Linked DNA regions of Homo sapiens: regions 1, 2 and 4 are each linked to region 3. The links are contacts of gene promoters, found by promoter capture Hi-C in blood cells and fetal thymus (Javierre and others, 2016). All regions are on one chromosome and are shown on one strand. The core of a region is centred on a gene start or on the middle of the fragment in contact, and the rest is flanking DNA. Distances in the headings are between cores, read along the strand shown.

Region 1 (4,228 bases), core at 1,438-3,937, 1.6 Mb before region 3:
AATAATTTCTTAGGGTTTTGATATTAATGTTCTCAGTAGATGGTTCTGTGGATTTAGATAAGCACTAATTCCATGTCTTTGGAGTCTGAGACAGTAATATGGATGTTTCATGAATAGATTTGAGGGAAAAAAGAATACACACAGAATAAATCAGAATCAGCGAGGGGAAGAGAAATAAGTATATCAGAGTGTCTAATATTTGATAGTTGGGAGCAGTAAGAAATGTATAGAATGGGGGTAAAAAGTTCAAATGCCCATGAGGGCCATAAAGAATAAAGAAGGAAGAGGTGAGGGCTTGGGTACTGGAGAGCAGTGCCTCTTCTAAAAAGTCAGCACTACTGAACTCCAGTGGTTTGTTAGTAGGAGTGAAGGGTCAGTATTGCCAGATCTTCCTATTTTTAATTTTATTTTATTTATTTATTTTTGAGACAGAGTCTCACTCTGTCACCAGGCTGGAGTGCAATGGCGCTATCTCGGCTTACTGCAACCTCCGCCTCCTGGGTTCAAGCGATTCTCTTGCCTCAGCCTCCCGAATAGCTGGGACTACAGGCGCGTGCCACCACACCCAGCTAATTTTTGTATTTTTAGTAGAGACGGGGTTTCACCATGTTGGCCAGGCTGGTCTCGATCTCTTAACCTCGTGATCTGCCAGCCTCGGCCTCCCAAAGTGCTGGGATTACAGGCATGAGCCACCACGCCCAGCCGATCTTCCTATTTTTTAAGAAAGATTAGAAATCTAAAACTTTATGTTATTTTTCTGATTTTTAAAATGATGTGTGGAACAACTGTTTGGGGGCTTGTTAGAATTTGCAGGATGTCACTTTGATACCTCTGGTATAAGAACTTGATAACCACAGGGTAAAGGCAAGCCATCTCAGTTATACCTGCTCTTCATTAGAGCAAGCAAAGATTGTGCAGGTTGTCTAAGCAGATAGGCATTAAGAAAACTTATTTATTGAGAGCTGATATTTCCATAAAATCCGGGGATGTAGTTGTTCCAAAAGTCTTAAAAATTATCCCTGGGTAATAGTCATTAAAGATAATTTGTTTTATTTTATTTATCCTTGAAGTATTCTCATATACTTATGCATATATTTGAAAATTGAATTCCTTTTTCACATTTACTTTTATCCTTCATGTTTGGGGCCTAGTCTGTTGAAAACTTTTTTTTTCCCTGCAAGTCTCCAGTTGTAAAATCTGTGCTAGGGCTTGATCAGAGCTGGAGGGTAAGGATCGTTTAGCCTTCCTTTGCAGAATTATCCTTTGAATTGAAATTATACTGACTTCCCAGTAAGAGAAAGTTGTGTTTTTTTTGTTTGTTTGTTTGTTTGTTTGTTTTTTTGGTGAAATTTTGGCTCGCAGTTCTTGAAAGCTTTCTGCTTTTCAAAATTTTCATCCATATGATCGTTGATATAAATTTGTTATTAAATTATTATAATGTTTCTGCTTTCCTGGAATGCTAATCTCATTGTTTTGTCTAGATGTTTTTAGTTTGCTGTTAAGGTGCCTAGGATTTTTCCTTTTGATTTTGGGGGTAGGCAAAGGAAGTTGGTTTGACACTTTGTTTTTAATTTAACACATCTATTTGTTGATATTTCTAAATATTACTCTGCACAATGTAATTACAACAGCATGGAGAGAAAAAGCAGATATGTTATAAACAAATTTTATAGTATATCAAACAACTATTGTGACTGTGTAGGGTAAAAAGGATTCCATTTTTTCCCCTCTGTGAATGCATCTGCTTACTTCTCAATATTTAATATGGATAATAAATATATTTTTTAAAATTTAAGAGGGAGCTATTCTTAAGTTTTGCCTTAGAAAAAAGGTTTAAAAAAAGATGTGGACTGTGAACAACCAAATACTTAGGTATTCAGGACTACAGAAGATGTTGAAAAAGTTATTTGAAAAGGGTTCTGTGGATCCTAATATAAAAACATTCATGTATGTTTTATAATGTCACTACAATATATAGGCCTTACTACATGAGAAATGTAAGATACTGAGAAGAGAGTTAGGAAGTTAGGCTAACTCTAACAGAAAGTGAAACTGATTTGGCAAATATTTTTTTCTATTGCTTCAGTACAAACGGAAAACAGCTTCTCCAATGGCCAGTAAGCTTTGTTAAAGGAAGTAACCCCAAAGAGTATTCTTACTACTAAATTCAGTACATCGCAAAATCCCACTGATGTTATTTTTATTATATTTTGGAGGGAAGAGGTTGCATTTTAAAGATAAATTTGTGGGACAGGTATATTATATTGCAAGGGCTTCCTTTTGCTTTATTTCTGTTTGGGAAATTTCTTTAGGAAAGAGTGTAAGTATACAGGAAATGTATGGGTTAGTGTGTTGGTCAGGAAATGCAATTTTTTTTCCAGTGACCATCCTTGATGGCACCTGACTGAGTTGCAGTTGCAGTATACTTGTGAGGGGTTTGAAAACAGATTTGTGCAATTCCACTTCTGGACCTTTCTGGCATGAAATATTTTTAACTTCTCAGAGCTCTTTGCTTCTTTAGGAATATTCAGAAGAGAACGAGCTTGGTAGCCTCCGAGATTGGAATTCACTCAGGAAACTACTGTCTGTTTTACCTGCAGTCAGTTGCATGGCAAAAGTGCTGCACAATGCATGTACTTTTTCTCTGCTTAGAGTGTTGACAGTGATGCTTACAGTGATAACAAATGCCAGAGTTAGTTCCTAAATGTGCCTGTGTTAGGGTAAAAGTTGTTCTTATGTCTAAAAGAATTTTTCCAAGATGCCAGTAACGGTGAAATAGTTGGTCAAAGAATTCAGCTTGGTTTTTAATTAAAATTTCCTGACCAAGGCATCCTTCTCTGAAATGGCTATAGTATGAGGCCCTGTTTGGATTATAGCATTTGCCAGTTATTTTAGGCACCAAAAGAAAAAAGTTTGAAAACAAATACATACATTAGATAATGTTGGAAATGTATACCAGGCAATCAGCTACAAGCAGGACAGGTATTGGAAAATTGAAATCCATGTCTTTCTCTTAGGGAGCTTGGTGAGTTTATCCCATCCTACCTGCCTATTATTTTATGTTATAATTTTTGGGTTGATTAAAATGAATATTTTAAGTTGCTTAGAAATTGAGCTTTATCCTATCTTGTTCTTATCTATCAGAAGTAAGAAATAGATCTTTTCGGATGAGATTTTTGGGTCTGTGTATTCTCGTGTCCTTAGTCTCTAATAAGAATAGCTTGATAAGAATCATAAGCAACACAAGCTTCCCTCTAAAATACAACCTTCACATTTTGTAAAGGTAGTAAATATTGAGTGGGCAACTAATTCCCTATATGCTGAGAATTTTCTGTATTAGAATTGAGATGGTTCCCCTTATAGGTGGGGTTAGCTGTCAGGTAGCCTGTAAGACATGGCATTGTTCTGGAGAACCTTGTGCATCCTGGAATAATGAAGCATTTATTTCCCCGTGCTATTTGCCTAGAACTTGGAGGAAATAAGATTACTGACTGATGTGATGCCTTGAACAAAGATGCAGTCTCTCTGCAGTAAGTTGGAAGGAAATAATTTTAAGAGATTTCCCTCAATTTTGAACAGACCTCCTTAGCCTAGATGACTTCTTGCCAACATAGCAACTTCTTGGCTAACAAAATAATGTTTGTCTTCAACATCTAACAACACTTAAGATACACGTGCTTGGTAGTGTCAAAGATGGACAAATTGTAGGTGAAGATTTTTATTCTGTCTACCAGTGTGGAAAGTTGGGTAGAAATATAACTGAGAGGCTGAATAAAAACTTTGGCAGAGATGTCAAAGCTGGAAGTGATTTGGTGCGGGAGTTTCTGTTGAGCATCTGTGGACCACTGCATAGCCCCTTAGTATTTCTGTTAGGGATGCCCTGGAGGAAGGGTTTTCTGGCAGACATCCAGACGTACAAATCCAGCGTACTAGAAGAGTGGGCAGCATCCAGCCACTGTAACCATAGGATGTGTAGGGGAGATGTTTGGGAGCCTGCTGTACAGTCCAAGAATACCTCTGTGGTCTCCTAGAATAGGGCCTAATTAATTCCACAAGGGGGTTTTCCGTACCATTTGTTTTCATTACTGAACATCATTCTCAGTACAGGCTCATCTGAGTAGAGTTTTATTTGTTCAAGACAATTGTTTGGGCTTGTTTTTTAAAACCAGTTTTGCATTTGGGGGAGGATATTAGATGCCTTACACTGGGAGTCTTCACCCAGTTTTTC
Region 2 (4,787 bases), core at 1,972-4,471, 1.4 Mb after region 3:
GGATAAAGGAATTGACTGGATCACATCAGGCCTCAAACACTAGAGGAGAGGGGGAAGAAAAAAAAATTTTGTTCCCCTTTATTTTGTTCCAAATTTTGCCCAAATTTTTGTTCCCCTTTATTCTTATCATTGGTGCTTTCTGTCCTTCTTGATGGTGTCATTTTAATGTTTAACACCACACTTAGTCACATTCCATATTCCCTTTTGTATTATAAAGGTTGCCAGTCTTCTTTTTACCGGCCATGGAATTGTTCAATTTCCCATTCTTGCAATATAGCCTGTCGGGGATCTTAACATTTGCTTTGTCTATGGATGTTGCATGTTGGGAAAGCCACTCTCAGCTCTGAGCAGTAATTTCAGCATCTAGAGTCCTGAAGGAAGCCATCAAGTATTAATTGACCATGATTAGATGTTGTATACTACTAGAGCTGAGAAGAAGATAGAAGTCACTGACGATGAGCTTCCTGAGTACAAACACTGCTAAGGGAGTGAAGGCTGCAATTATAAACTGCAACACAGATCAAGTTACCATGAAGTTACCAACTTTTTACATGGCAACAGGAGGGAGGCCTTTTTACAAATTTTTAAAATTTTAATAATTTGTAAAGACTATTTTTAAGTATCACAGCATCTACCACTGCCACAATTTCATAGTTACCAAAAATACCAGGATATTAAATTGAGACATGCTAATCAGCTGCTCCTATTCATTTATTCAACAAATACGTATTGAGTGCTTACTAAGAGCAAGGCTTGTAGCTTGGCATTGAAGAACGAAACAAACATTGTCTCTGTGATCCTGGGGTTTATAGTTTATTGGGGGAAACTTGCCTTTAGAATGCAGAACGATAAGAGTTATAATACACATGGTTTCCAAGTATGCACTTCTGCAACAACCCCTGATTTTTGTCTGGGATCCCTTCCACTGCACTTACAGTCCAAGTCCAAGGGTAGGACACAACACCCAAAGCTAAGCCAGTCAGTTCGTTTTGCTCATCTGTGTTTAGGAATCGGTTCTGGGTTGGGTTTATGACCCAAGGAAAGCCAATCAGACCTAATAAGGACACAATTCCCAACCCTCAGTTTGAGCTATCAGAGATTAGGAATCTTTCTTTTCCCACTAGACAGACAGAAAATGTGCAGTTGGAACCCCATTGCAAGAGGGCAGACAGTAGAGGCAGGAGCAGAACCAGGGAGGCTGGCAGAGAGGAAAACTGGCACCCAAGGGATGGTCCAAGCCTCCATTCATTTCATTTAAAGTAGCTATAATTCTAGAACTTCTATGTCCCTTGAGCCAATATTTTCCCTATTTGGGTTGTGTTTCTGACACTAACAACTGAAAATGTGTAGATTGATAGGTAAAGCCCAGTACAGCATAGGATTCAGCCACTAAAAAAAGTTTTCCTAAAGAAATGTCCTATCAACTTAGAACACATATTAAAAGAGTTCACCAGAGAACCCTGGCTATTGCCACACATTGTGCACTGCCTGCAATGGTTTTATCCGTATTGCTCTTAGGACGTGATTATTATGCACTTTCCTGACTTTCAGATGGAAAAGAAAATGTTGCCAATCCCCTGAACAACCCAGTCATTCTTAATGAGAGGGACAATATGAAGAAGGCTGTGTGGTAAAGAAGGAAAACAAAAAAGACACAAAATAAATCGAAGCCAGTCACACTTAAAAGTTGGGTACACCAGACTCCCACTGTAGATTCAGAATAAATAGCAGACAGGAAGAACAGACAGACAGACACACTCCTGCCACACATATGCACATATCAACATACTGCAATGATGCTTTAATAATGCCAACTAATTATGCCATCTTTCATAGAGAGAGACAGTAATTGTGTTTCTCGAGTGTGGTGACGTAAGCATTTTCAGATTCTACAATGTAACCATTTTGAAGAATAAGTTGAGAGTATCTATCCAGAGTCTTATAAATGTATTTGACTTTAAAATTCCACTTTTATAAACCTATCATGAGAAAACTGAAAAGGCTTTATGTATGATATTGATAAAAGTACTATCTGTAATACCAAAAAATTAAAATCATTTAAATTTCCAACAAAAATATAACATTATTTTCCCTCTAATTGAATAAATATTTACACCAAAGGATGTTTTTCAAAAGCCAGTAATGACAGGAGAATTTTTGTTGTAATGTTAAGTGAAAAGAACTGGATACAAATTTGCATGTATGCCATCATCTTGACCCTGGGAAAACAAACTATGTTCATTTTAATTTATAGGAACAAATGAGAAATTGATTACATGCATTTCCCAGTGAGATTAATCTTAACTGTTCTGGTATGATCAAAGTAGTCAGCTCAATTTTCCCCGAGTCCTTATCTGGATATTCAATGTGGTCAGCTGTCATGGGTGGTTTTGTTACGTCAGGAGACTTGATAGCCAAGACTGATAAACTAAACAGACAGTTATACCAGATTTGGGCTGGGCTGCCCACCACTGAGCTGAGCAGTTGTTAATATTGACACAATTTCTGTTAACAATGTGATCACATGCACTGCTGTACTTAAAGTGTAGTTTATATGTCACATCCTCATTTTTTCCCTTTTTTGTTAGTGTGCATTATAGATATGTGTTACCCAAAACTACATCAATTATACATACAAGCAAAAGTTACAATAACCTTATTTTAAAATACATTTTCTTTCTTCTGGGATATGAAAAATGGATTCACTTGGTAAATAGCCCTGATATCTGATTCATACATAAAAAAATGACTATTTTCTGTCAAGAAAACTGTTCCAGAATGTAAAACTAAACAAACAGACAGGCAATCCAGTTCCCTCATGTACAACGAGCCATTAGTAAAAGATGTATTCCCTTAAGTGACCTCAGAGGATGTTCTGCTACACCCAGGAAAGTGGGAAGGGGATAATCAAGTGGAGAGTACAATTCACAAAGATAATCATTTTCATCTGATGGAGGAAAAATAACATAGGCGTCTACTATAAAAGCTTATTTTAAAAGACAAATCACAGGAAAAATAATGGAAAAGCCTAAAAATCTCTTATAAATGCCTGCCTGAATTCAGTGACCAAAAGCTCGAATTTAAAGACCCTCAGGGAATTTCTGTGGACATCTGCACTGATGATGAGAGGAATAATCTCCAGTGCTCACCTATTCCTCATCGGCTGTGTTGTTTGTGTGTGTGTGTGTGTGTGTGTGTGTGTGTGTGTGTTTCTCACGCACAAATCAGAGCTAGTTACCACAAAACCGAGAGAGTGTAGAATCAGTCATTAAGTTGGTCCCAGAAACCATGGTGGCTGGGGTCTCAAATGTGACAAGATTTACAAGATCTAAGATCTGGCATTTTACTCAGCAAAATACAGCACCCTTGGGGATGTTTAGAATCTTTCCATTTATCTACAAGGCATTTCTACTTCAGTGTCTCTCCACCCACATGTACCCCACGGAAGAAGCTTAATAATAGTTCACGATATGTATGTATATATTAGAAAATGCCTGGCAAATATTAAGTTCTACATAAATGTTACTTAATCATCTGCATTATATATATATATTCAATTTAATCCTTATAATTCTATGAAGCAAGTACTATCATTCTCATTTTATACATAAGGAAACTGAGGCTCAGGGTGACTAAATAAGTTTTCCATTTTATGATTAGTAAATAGAAGAGCAGAGATTTCAACCAGGGGTCCTTGAGACTATACTGATGAATGTATCAATGAGCAATGAAGAAACAATAGGCTCTAACACCTAACACCAATCTTTGTGTGCCTCGGCTACTGCTCTAAATGACTAGTTTCTTTTGCTTTTTTCTTTTTTTTTTTAACTGTATTGGTTTTTGTTCATTTTTTAATTGTTGTATTGAGTTTTTAATTTTTATTTTTATTTCAATAGTTTTGGGTGTACAGGTGGTTTTTTGTTACATGGATATGTTCTTTAGTGGTGATTTCTGAGATTTTGGTGCACCCATCACCCGAGCAGTGTACACTGTCCCCAGTATGTAGTCTTTTATCCCTTGCCCCTCCACCCGCTTCCCTGCCACCTAGTCCCCAAAGCCCATTAGATTATTCTTATGCCTCTGCATCCTCATAGCTTAGCTCCCACTTATAAGTGAGAATATATAATTCAAACGACTAGTTTCTCTATCACTTATTATTTTCAAGCCCTTGTCTGGGGCTCTGAATTCTACCACCTACTCTCCCTGACTACGGAGCAACTCCTGTGCCTACACTTATGACATATGCAAAGCTCCTTCTGTGCTGACATCCCAGACTCTGTCCCCATCTTCCCAGCCCAGGCTTCCTGGGACATGTTCATCTCTTTGGTAACATACTGATCATTGGCTCCACACCTCTTTGTTTCATGTTTCTCTCTCTTCGGCTACCATTTATTGTACACAATGTTATTCCCTTAATATAATTGATTGAGTAACTCTTCCTCTGTGAAGCCACCTTTATTATATGTGTGTGTGTACATATATATGTGTTTGTTTATTTACTGTTATTAGATCCCGTTACTCTCAGCTCCTGTGGCATCCTATTTTTAATTACTATGGCTTTATAATAATGTTCGGTGATTGGTTCAGCAAATATTTTCTCCTTGCTCTCTCTCTTCACAATTTTATTATCCGGCTGATCATGGTGCCTCATGCCTGTAATCCCAGCACTTTGGGAGGCCGGGTTGGGTGGATGACGAGGTCAAGAGATCAAGGCCATCCTGGCCAACATGGTGAAACCCCGTCTCTACTAAAAATACAAAAAATACTGGGCATGGTGGTGCACGCCT
Region 3 (4,247 bases), core at 894-3,393:
GCACCATTCCATGGACTGAGGGCAGAGCCATTCACTCTATATAAAATAGTAGTTGACCGTAATGCCTTTTAGATTAAAATTAAATGTAAATATATTTCCTAATACTTTCTTTTACTGCATCCGAAATAGATTGTCTTGCACTATTCTTGGAGTACCGAAATCCCTGGGATACATGGGAGAAATTACTGGTCCAGAGAACAATTTCTCACATAGGCAAGGATGTTTCCATTTTAAAAAACCTGCTCATTTCAGTTGCTCAGCCATTTTATAGAAAGTGAAATGACTTTGAAATGAATTGTCTTTATAGAGATCCATAATTTGCAAGCAAAATCCCCACTCTATGACATGTTCTAAGCAACAGCTGTGAGAATTTCAAACGTGCACTATGCTTTTAACAGTTCAACTGTTGCCAAGGGAAATTGAATTGGCTTCAAAATCTTCCTTGGTTTTAATTCTGAATTTACCCTCAATCAAAGATTGAAGAAAACAGGTCCTTGGCTGGGACACTGAACTTTCATGAAGACTGTACAGGATATTGAGATATGGAAAATTTAAGGTTCTTGAGGGTAGGAACTAGACTGCTGGTATTCTATAGTTCATACTTAGTGGTGATGAACTTTATCACGGCAAAAGTGGGCACTAGCCATACAGTGGCCAATCATCTGGAGTCAGTAGGGGGAGACTGCTTCCATCTAAGAGTCATCTTTTCGTTTTCCATTTCAGTTCAAAGCAGGAATATTTTTATCTTTCATGGCACAAAATTATTTTTCCACTCAAGAGCCATTTCTGGGAGTGTGCAAAGAAAATTTCAAAACTCTAGTGTTTAACAACACAAACAGGAGAAATGCAAATGCATTTTTCGTTGTCACTTGTACATATGGTACATATAGTTTTATTTATATATAGCTCTATTCCCTAACCGTATCGAAAAGATGATATAATGCTGAGGGAAAAAACTAGGCTACAGATCGACACACATTATTAACATAAAGAGAAAAAATACTAAAAGGAAGTATGCAAATACTGTAAGTGGTTATCTCTGAGTTGAGAAAATAAGAATGTTAATTTTTTTGTCCCCCCCCCCAATTTCTAAGTTTTGAACAACTGGTACTCTGACGTTTGTAGTTAGCATTAATAATTTCTTTCTTCCTTTTTTCCTCTCAAAAAATGTACGTAGGGTGCATTCAAATACATTAATCCAAGAATATTATCTGGAAATGTACCATTTGGCCGTCTGCATTCACCAAGCATGCAAACACATCTCCAAATATCTCATCACTTGTTCTAGATAGATTTAAGTAGTCTTCTCCATTAACTCTTTCGGGTCCAACTTGCCAATTAAAATCTCGAAACTCCTAGTTTGGAGCTGGGTCTTTCCGAGCTCTGAGCAGTCGGCTGACTGGCGGGTTATTCTGAATGAATAGACTGCAAACTGTGGCGACAGCGTTCCCACCTGCATTAATTAAACGAGCGCTGGCTTCAACGCTACAGGGGTCTGATATTCAAAACAGACGTTTAAGGAAAAGGAGATGAGGTGAGAGAAAATTCGAAGAAGGTTCAGCGGAGAGCGACTGCTGGGGGTTTCAAGGGGCCCATTTACACAAGCAGTGGCACACCGGCACGGGCGGGGGATCTTATTCCTGCCTACGCATCACAGGGTCCCGTCCAGAGTGGGACTCCCCAAACCCTGAGGGGCCACACTAGCTGCAGGGCGGGATCAAGTCTCCGGGGCTCCCCGACCCTTAGACGACCCGAGCCCTTGGAATCCTCCGGTCCAAGACGACCGCCGCCCAAAGGCTCCGCACAGCACGGAAAGCCAGCCCGCTGATCCGCTAGTCGCACACCTCCCGGAATTAAAGAGCTCCTCTCAGGCCCAGCGGCTTCTCACTTCAGCTTGCCCCACTGCCGGGCGGAAGCGGCGGCTGCACCGCCCGAGATCGCGGCTGCATCCGGGTTCCTCAAGCTTCGGCCCAATCCTCGACCTTCTCTCTTCCCACCCTCCCGTTTCTCCGCCCTCCTGCCGCCAATCCCTGATCAGGTCTCAGCCGAACATGCTGTCAGGGGAGTGAAGGCGGATACTGGCCAATGAGGCCTCGCTTCCCGTTTGAAGTCTCCAGTGGGCGGGCGCCGGAGGCGGGCGCTGCTGGCCAGAAGGTTCGGTTGCGCGTGTGCCATGGACTCAGCCGCCCGGTGATATTGACAATAGGAGAGAGAAAGGGGCATTGACTGGGACCCACCGCGGGTAGCGAAAGGTGGCTCTGGCAGCGGCGGCTCCAGCTCCTGCGGCTCCTCCTCCTTATTCTGTCCCCTTCTCTTGCTGCCGCTGCAGATCCAGTCTTCCTCCCTCCCTTCCCCCCCTCCCCACGTCGTCGCCGCCGCCGCCGGGTCCGGGGCAACGAGCTGAGGCGCCGCCCGCCAGGAATGTGAGCGAGGAGCCACCGGCGGAGCCGCAACGGGGTCGGTGCCGATTTGATGGGACGGGCCCGCGGGGGAGGATCGTGAGGCCGCCGCCGCCACCGGAACGCTGAGGTTCGGGTCCGGCCGTGAGGCCTAGAGGCTCCGCCGCCGCGGAACCGGAGGGACCCCGTACCGGACAGCCGTCGCCCCAGGCTCCCCGCAGCTGCCCGGACCTCCCCCTGCACGTCCCGGTCCCGCCGCCCGCCCCCGCTGCGGCCACCTCGCCCGTCTCCCGCCCCTCCAAGCCACAGATCATCTTTGGATTCTTCCCCAGAAGCTTCAAGGTAACTTAGTCCCTCCAGCACCGCGGCTCGCCCGCTTCCCTTCTTCCTCCCGGTCCTCCTGGGGAACCTATGGGGCACCGGCCTTGGGAAGGCCTGGCCGGGCAGGCGAGGGGTGCGGTGGGGTGGGGTGCGGGAGCGGGAGCGCCCGTCCCACTTGTCTGATTTACCTACAAATGCTTCTGATGATACCTCTCATTCACTCTGCCCCCTCCCCCCTTTTTCTCCACCTTCTGGGATTGGAGGCGTTTTCTTGCCCCCCTTTATCCACTGGCGGGGGCGGGGAATAAAGAGGGGTTTGGTGTGAGGAGGATTCTCTAGCAGCTTATCGTCTCCAGGGCTTGGGGTGTGGGTTAGGAGCAAAGGGAGTATGTAAGCATCCCCACAGACAAACCCCTTCCCTGTCTTTCCCTACTTCCCCTTACCCCCTTTGGATTATCCTGAGCCATGGAAATGCCCCATGCCTGCTGATTAGAGGATGATAAAGCTTCGGGAGCCCTGGCCCAGGGCGAAACCTGTTTCCCTGGGCTTTGCACGGACCCGCTGTTACCTTACGTTCAGTTTTGCAGTGCTTCAGGGTTGCGATCCTTGACGTTTATTCTGGGCCTCGGGCATAAGGGGTAAATGATTTTTTTAAAAGCTACCTATATATCGTCTGTAGAGATGAGAGATAAGGAATAAAGAAGAGACGAAAAGAGTGATGGAGGAAGAGGATTTACTGAAATGTTGTAGTGTTAGAGTTAGAGTGAAGTCTAAATAATTCACATACCCGAATGGAAAATCGGCCCCTAAATTTACAACGTACAAATAAGATGTGGAGCTTTTGGCTGATGCAGTCATTTTGATATTTTAAAGTGATCTTAACATCTATAGTCATTCATAGTTTGTGATTCTATTTTGAATCCATCACATTATATTAAGGCTAAATTAGGTAGATTTTTAAAAACTTTTTTTTTTTTAAAGAAAACCAAAGAAGACTTCCAAATTCCAAACGTCAACATCATATGTGTGCATGTGTTTTAAAATGTTTTTGTTATTTTTACATTGTCAAAATCCACGTAATCCAGGTAACTTTTTATTCTCACGTGTTCAGGAAGAAATTCCCTTACTGTTTTATTTAGAAGTTAAAAACCACTTGTCTTGTCTATTGGAATGACAGGTGAGTAATTGCATTTCAGCATTTCCCCCATATGCATTCTTTCTATCCGAGTCTGCCATTAGTCTTGCATGAAGCCTCAGTGCCATGGAAATGATGGCATCTGTTTAATTTGGTGAATGAAATTAAGCTTAACGCTTGTTACTTTCAGGAAATAGCCTTCATTTTAATAACTCGAGAGGGTTAAACAATTCAAAAGTGCTATTCAGTTCCGTAAGTTTGATGGAATGAAAATTGGTATTTGATGATGAACTTCAAGGTCTAAACCTCAAGGGAACTCAACTTGGTTGTTTCAGTAGGCTGTGAATTTATGTTTTCAGTTCAACTTTGGTGCTTGATTTTCTCATAGTTTT
Region 4 (4,895 bases), core at 322-2,821, 1.0 Mb before region 3:
GGCGGATCACCTGAGGTCGGGAGTTCCAGACCAGCCTGACAAACATGGAGAAACCCCATCTCTACTAAAAATACAAAATTAGCCAGGTGTGGTGGTGCATGCCTGTAATCCCAGCTACTCGGTAGGCTGAGGCAGGAGAATCGCTTGAACCCAGGAGGCGGAGGTTGAAGTGAGCCGAGATCAAGCCATTGCACTCCAGCCTGGGCAACAAGAGTGAAATTCCGTCTCAAAAAAAAAAAAAAAAAAAGAATTTCAGATAAGTGCCTGTCGGAGAATCCTTAAACTGTAATTTAGCCCCATCCTAACATCAAGTACTTTTTCCACTGTTATTTGACTATGGCTGATCTAACATCTGCTAAGGAGTTCCCAGGAGTTATCAGGTTACAAGTTTCAACTGACCCCTGGAAAGTGAATGGCTACTTTGGTGGCTTTATCTTGGTAATATGCAAATCTTGGTAAATTTGAAAAGAGAGAATTAAATAAGAAACACTCTCAAGAATGCTCAAGAATGTAAAACTCAAGAATTTGAGTTTTACAAATTACTTTTCAAAATAGAAAATGAAGTATCTGCCCAGATTGATGTTAGTATTATAGCAAGCTACCGGAGGTCAGGCCGTAGGATCAAAAACTACCAATGGTCATTTTCTGATACTTTAGAAACTAATCTCTTAAGTGAGGTCTAAAATGAGTCATACCAAACTGCATTTACAGAAGGACTCCATTATATTTTGAAGTTAGAGCAAGGAATGAACACTTTCAACAAATAAAGGACTAATAAAAGGGTAACAGAATGGGTATTATCTTGGTAAAACTCACAGTAAACGTCACTCTAAAGCTACAATTAACCTGATTTTGTAGTACCATAGTAGTTTGTCACATATTTATGCCTGTAGTCCATGAAACACCCTTAAATGCTCATTGCTGAAAAATTTCCACCAATGTGACACCAGCACTGATAAATTGGAGTTATCTTTAGCTTTTCAGAGTATAAAAAGCAGTTTCCTTTAAAAAAAAAAAAAGGTTTTTATGTTGAAGCAATTTCACTGTTGGCTATTTATCTTCCTCCCCCCTACCCAAATGAGGCTTGCTAAAAAGGAAAAAAAAAAAAACACCTTATGTGTACTTAAGAGTCAACTCTTGTATGAAAGGGTCATTACCAAAGGCCAGTATTCTTAGGCTAACTTCTTAGCTAGTTTTAAAATTATTACTCATTCCATTATTCATAAAATTAATCTCTCTGAATGACACAGATGGGTCCACTACTAAATTGAAGATAAAGCTTTCATAACTATTGTCTTATGAGCAGCATGAAGCAAACCTGCATCATGTGGAAAGATATCAAAACGTCTATGTGCAGTAAAAACATTAGGTTAACTATGCATTTTCCTATTGGTTTTACTGAATTTCTCTCAAGTTCTCCTTAAAGAGAGTAAGAAAAGAGTAGTCATGTCATTTCACTAAAAAATAAAAATGAATTCCTTTCTCTGAAGGATGTGAATTTTAAAGATTAAGTCCAGGATAGTGGATCACCAAAGGGTTGCAATATTCTTATCTATAACAATCTCAAATTGGATATGGAGGAAAATGGACAAGTTGTATATTAACAAAATACAAGACTATCTAGTACAGTTTGCCTTTTAAAAAAGAAATCTATCGTAGTGATTTAAGGCAAGTATTGCAAAAACGTTATGATCCCCAAACCAGAAAAAAATAATAATAATTATGTTTCCCTACCCAAGTAATTCTAACTGCGGGAAACATGTTATTAGAATTTGCCATAAGCTCAGAAGTTGAGCTGTTTTACTAGAAAATTAAACAAGTTTGACTAAATTTATACTCACTATTAAGTCACTTGAAAGCTTGCCTGCTGTCTCTTGTTTCAGGCTCCTGTATGTCACAAAATTAATTTGTTTCCATATTTCCTTTGGCAATTATAAGACAACTTCTGCCCAGCTTTTGTTAAAGGCTCATTTTACATTTAACCCCAGAATATAGCTCATATTTTCCTGGAATATTCAGGTGAATTTTCATTTGGACACTTAAGTTGTAGGAGTGTGAGTACACTAGGAAGACCCCAAGTCAGGTTTCTGTATTTAAGGGTGGGTGAAGTTTACCCAGATTCTTCTCCCCTTAAGTTGTTGGAATTCAAGGCAGCACCCTCATCTGGGAATTAAACAAGATTGGTTAGATAAATTTCACATCATACTAACATCTTAAAAGACGAATATGGGTAAAATATAAAGGAAGGAAAATTGAAAACTCCAAGACAGTAACTTTGAGATCAATTTCAGCTTTACTTTACATTTGCATTTATGCATTTGTTTGCAAAAAGTATACCTGTCCTTAACATTACTGCAATGTTCAGTTTAGTTTTAAAGTAGTACATAAAAATAAACAATTTAAGCTCCTATATATTTTACTGTTTCCAAGCTTCTACAGAACAGGTGTGCAAACTTAAGGTTTCTCATCTCAAACAAATCTCCATGCACGAACTAATCAAAAATGCTCAAGTCAGCAAACACGCAAAATGCATTAAAGAGAAACCTCGAATAATGTTTTTAAAAAACAAACTTTGGAACTTTTATAATTAAACTAAGTTGTTGCACCTCTCCTTTCATTTGCATATACCAAAGACTTCCAACAATAGATCTCGTACTTGGCACAAGGACATTTCAAAGAAACAAACAAAAAAAAAGAGAGAGAGAGAAAGGCAAAGAGGTTTACGCTGACTTGAGTGCAAGCTTAGTCCACTTCTTCGATGGTGGGTCCCCCGGAGGCTCCTGAACCGCCGCCGCCGCTGCCGCCGCCAGGACCACCTTGGTAAAGTTTGCTGATGATGGGGTTGCAAACTCTTTCGAGCTCTTTCTGCTTGTGTTCATACTCATCTTTCTCTGCCATCTGGTTTCGGTCGAGCCAGTTGATCACCTCCTGACACTTGTCGAGGATCTTGTTTTTGTCCTGCTCGCTAATCTTGCCCCTCAGTTTCTCGTCTTCCACCGTCTGCTTGATGTTGTAGGTATAGGACTCCAGGGCGTTTTTGGCCGCGACTCGGTCGCGATTCGCCTCATCTTCCGATTTGTACCGCTCCGCCTCCTGCACCATCCGGTCAATGTCGTCCTTGCTCAGACGACCTTTGTCATTGGTGATGGTGATTTTGTTTTCCTTACCGGTGCTCTTGTCGGCGGCGGTAACGTTAAGGATGCCATTGGCGTCAATGTCGAAGGTAACCTCGATTTGGGGGACCCCGCGAGGCGCAGGGGGAATCCCGGTCAGGTCGAACTTGCCCAGCAGGTTATTGTCCTTGGTCATGGCCCGTTCGCCCTCGTATACCTGCACCAGTACGCTGCTCTGGTTGTCCGAGTAGGTGGTGAAGGTCTGCGTCTGCTTGGTGGGGATCGTGGTGTTCCTCTTGATGAGTGGGGTCATGACACCGCCAGCTGTCTCGATGCCCAGCGACAACGGGGTCACGTCGAGTAGCAGCAGGTCCTGCACATTCTCTGATTTGTCGCCGATGAGGATGGCCGCCTGCACCGCGGCGCCATAGGCCACCGCCTCGTCGGGGTTGATGCTCTTGTTCAGCTCCTTGCCGTTGAAGAAATCCTGCAGCAGCTTCTGGATCTTGGGGATACGAGTGGAGCCGCCCACCAGCACGATCTCCTGGATCTGGCCCTTGTCCAGCTTGGCGTCGCGCAGCGCCTTCTCCACCGGCTCCAGGGTCCCGCGAAAGAGGTCGGCATTGAGCTCCTCGAAGCGGGCGCGCGTGATGGACGTATAGAAGTCCACGCCCTCGTAGAGCGAGTCGATCTCGATGCTCGCCTGCGTGGACGAGCTCAGGGTGCGCTTGGCGCGCTCGCAAGCGGTGCGCAGCCGCCTCACGGCGCGCTTGTTGGGCCCAATGTCCTTCTTGTGCTTGCGCTTGAACTCCTCCGCCAGGTGGCTCACCATGCGGTTGTCGAAGTCCTCACCGCCCAGGTGGGTGTCGCCGGCCGTGGACTTCACCTCGAAGATGCCATCCTCGATGGTCAGGATGGACACGTCGAAAGTGCCACCGCCCAGGTCAAAGATGAGCACGTTCTTCTCGCCGCCCGCGCAGCCCTTCTTGTCCAGGCCGTAGGCGATGGCCGCCGCCGTGGGCTCGTTGATGATGCGCAGCACATTGAGCCCCGTGATGGTGCCTGCGTCCTTGGTGGCCTGGCGCTGCGAGTCGTTGAAATAGGCCGGGACCGTTATGACCGCGCTGTGCACCTTGCCCCCCAGGTAGGCTTCCGCGATCTCCTTCATCTTCGTGAGGACCATGGAGGATATCTCCTCTGGGAAGAAGGTCTTGGTCTCCCCCTTGTACTCTACTTGCACTTTGGGCTTGCCTCCCTCGCTCACCACCCGGAACGGCCAGTGTTTCATATCCGACTGCACTGTGGCATCCTCGAATTTCCGTCCAATCAGCCTCTTGGCGTCGAAGATGGTGTTGGTGGGGTTCATGGCCACCTGGTTCTTGGCGGCGTCGCCGATGAGGCGCTCGGTGTCCGTGAAGGCCACGTAGCTGGGGGTGGTGCGATTGCCCTGGTCGTTGGCGATGATCTCCACCTTGCCATGTTGGAAGACCCCGACGCACGAATAGGTGGTGCCCAGGTCGATGCCGATAGCCGGGCCACGGGCAGACATCCTGACTGAAAGGCGAGCGACGTTAGGACGGGAAAACCAGGGAGATGAACTCCGCGGAGTCAACTAACGGCCACCTCGAACCAAGCACCACGGGCACTACCAGCAACTCAGCTCCCCGCGCCCAGTTCCCGGTTCTTATAGCCGCCTCTGGGAACTCCCAGACCCAATCCGCTCCCGGGACCGCCCTCACAAACTCTTCCAGCTCCACCACAGGCTTGCCTAGGTCGGAGTGA

The links. The method cuts DNA at HindIII sites, captures the fragments that hold promoters and counts their contacts. A CHiCAGO score of 5 or more calls a contact.
Region 1: a fragment that was not itself captured here is called in contact with the fragment with the promoter of PPP2R5E in region 3 in 1 of 17 cell types (fetal thymus); the score reaches 9.8 in fetal thymus.
Region 2: a contact is called between a fragment that was not itself captured here and the fragment with the promoter of PPP2R5E in region 3, in 1 of 17 cell types (erythroblasts). The highest score is 5.4, in erythroblasts.
Region 4: a fragment that was not itself captured here is called in contact with the fragment with the promoter of PPP2R5E in region 3 in 1 of 17 cell types (fetal thymus); the score reaches 5.0 in fetal thymus.

The regions. Positions count from the first base shown.
Region 1 is chr14:65,096,646-65,100,873 of GRCh38, reverse strand. All of the region lies in intron 2 of MAX (MYC associated factor X), which reads left to right. Among named protein-coding and RNA genes, the nearest start is that of MAX, 3.8 kb to the left of the region's middle. The HindIII fragment of the contact is 1,125 bases long and covers 2,125-3,249 here.
Region 2 is chr14:62,156,585-62,161,371 of GRCh38, reverse strand. No RefSeq gene overlaps it. Among named protein-coding and RNA genes, the nearest start is that of LINC00644, 19 kb to the right of the region's middle. The HindIII fragment of the contact is 465 bases long and covers 2,989-3,453 here.
Region 3 is chr14:63,541,273-63,545,519 of GRCh38, reverse strand. It overlaps PPP2R5E (protein phosphatase 2 regulatory subunit B'epsilon), which reads left to right and starts at 2,143. Exons shown (of 14, transcript NM_006246.5): 1 at 2,143-2,741. It overlaps LOC112268140 (loricrin-like), which reads right to left and starts at 2,736. Exons shown (of 1, transcript NR_158218.1): 1 at 856-2,736. RefSeq lists enhancers at 661-740, 1,828-2,037, 1,100-2,091 and silencers at 2,328-2,467, 2,508-2,647. The HindIII fragment of the contact is 771 bases long and covers 1,966-2,736 here.
Region 4 is chr14:64,540,617-64,545,511 of GRCh38, reverse strand. HSPA2 (heat shock protein family A (Hsp70) member 2) reads right to left here and starts at 4,771. Exons shown (of 1, transcript NM_021979.4): 1 at 2,275-4,771. The coding sequence starts at 4,662. The coding sequence ends at 2,743. RefSeq lists an enhancer at 4,627-4,736. The HindIII fragment of the contact is 580 bases long and covers 1,282-1,861 here.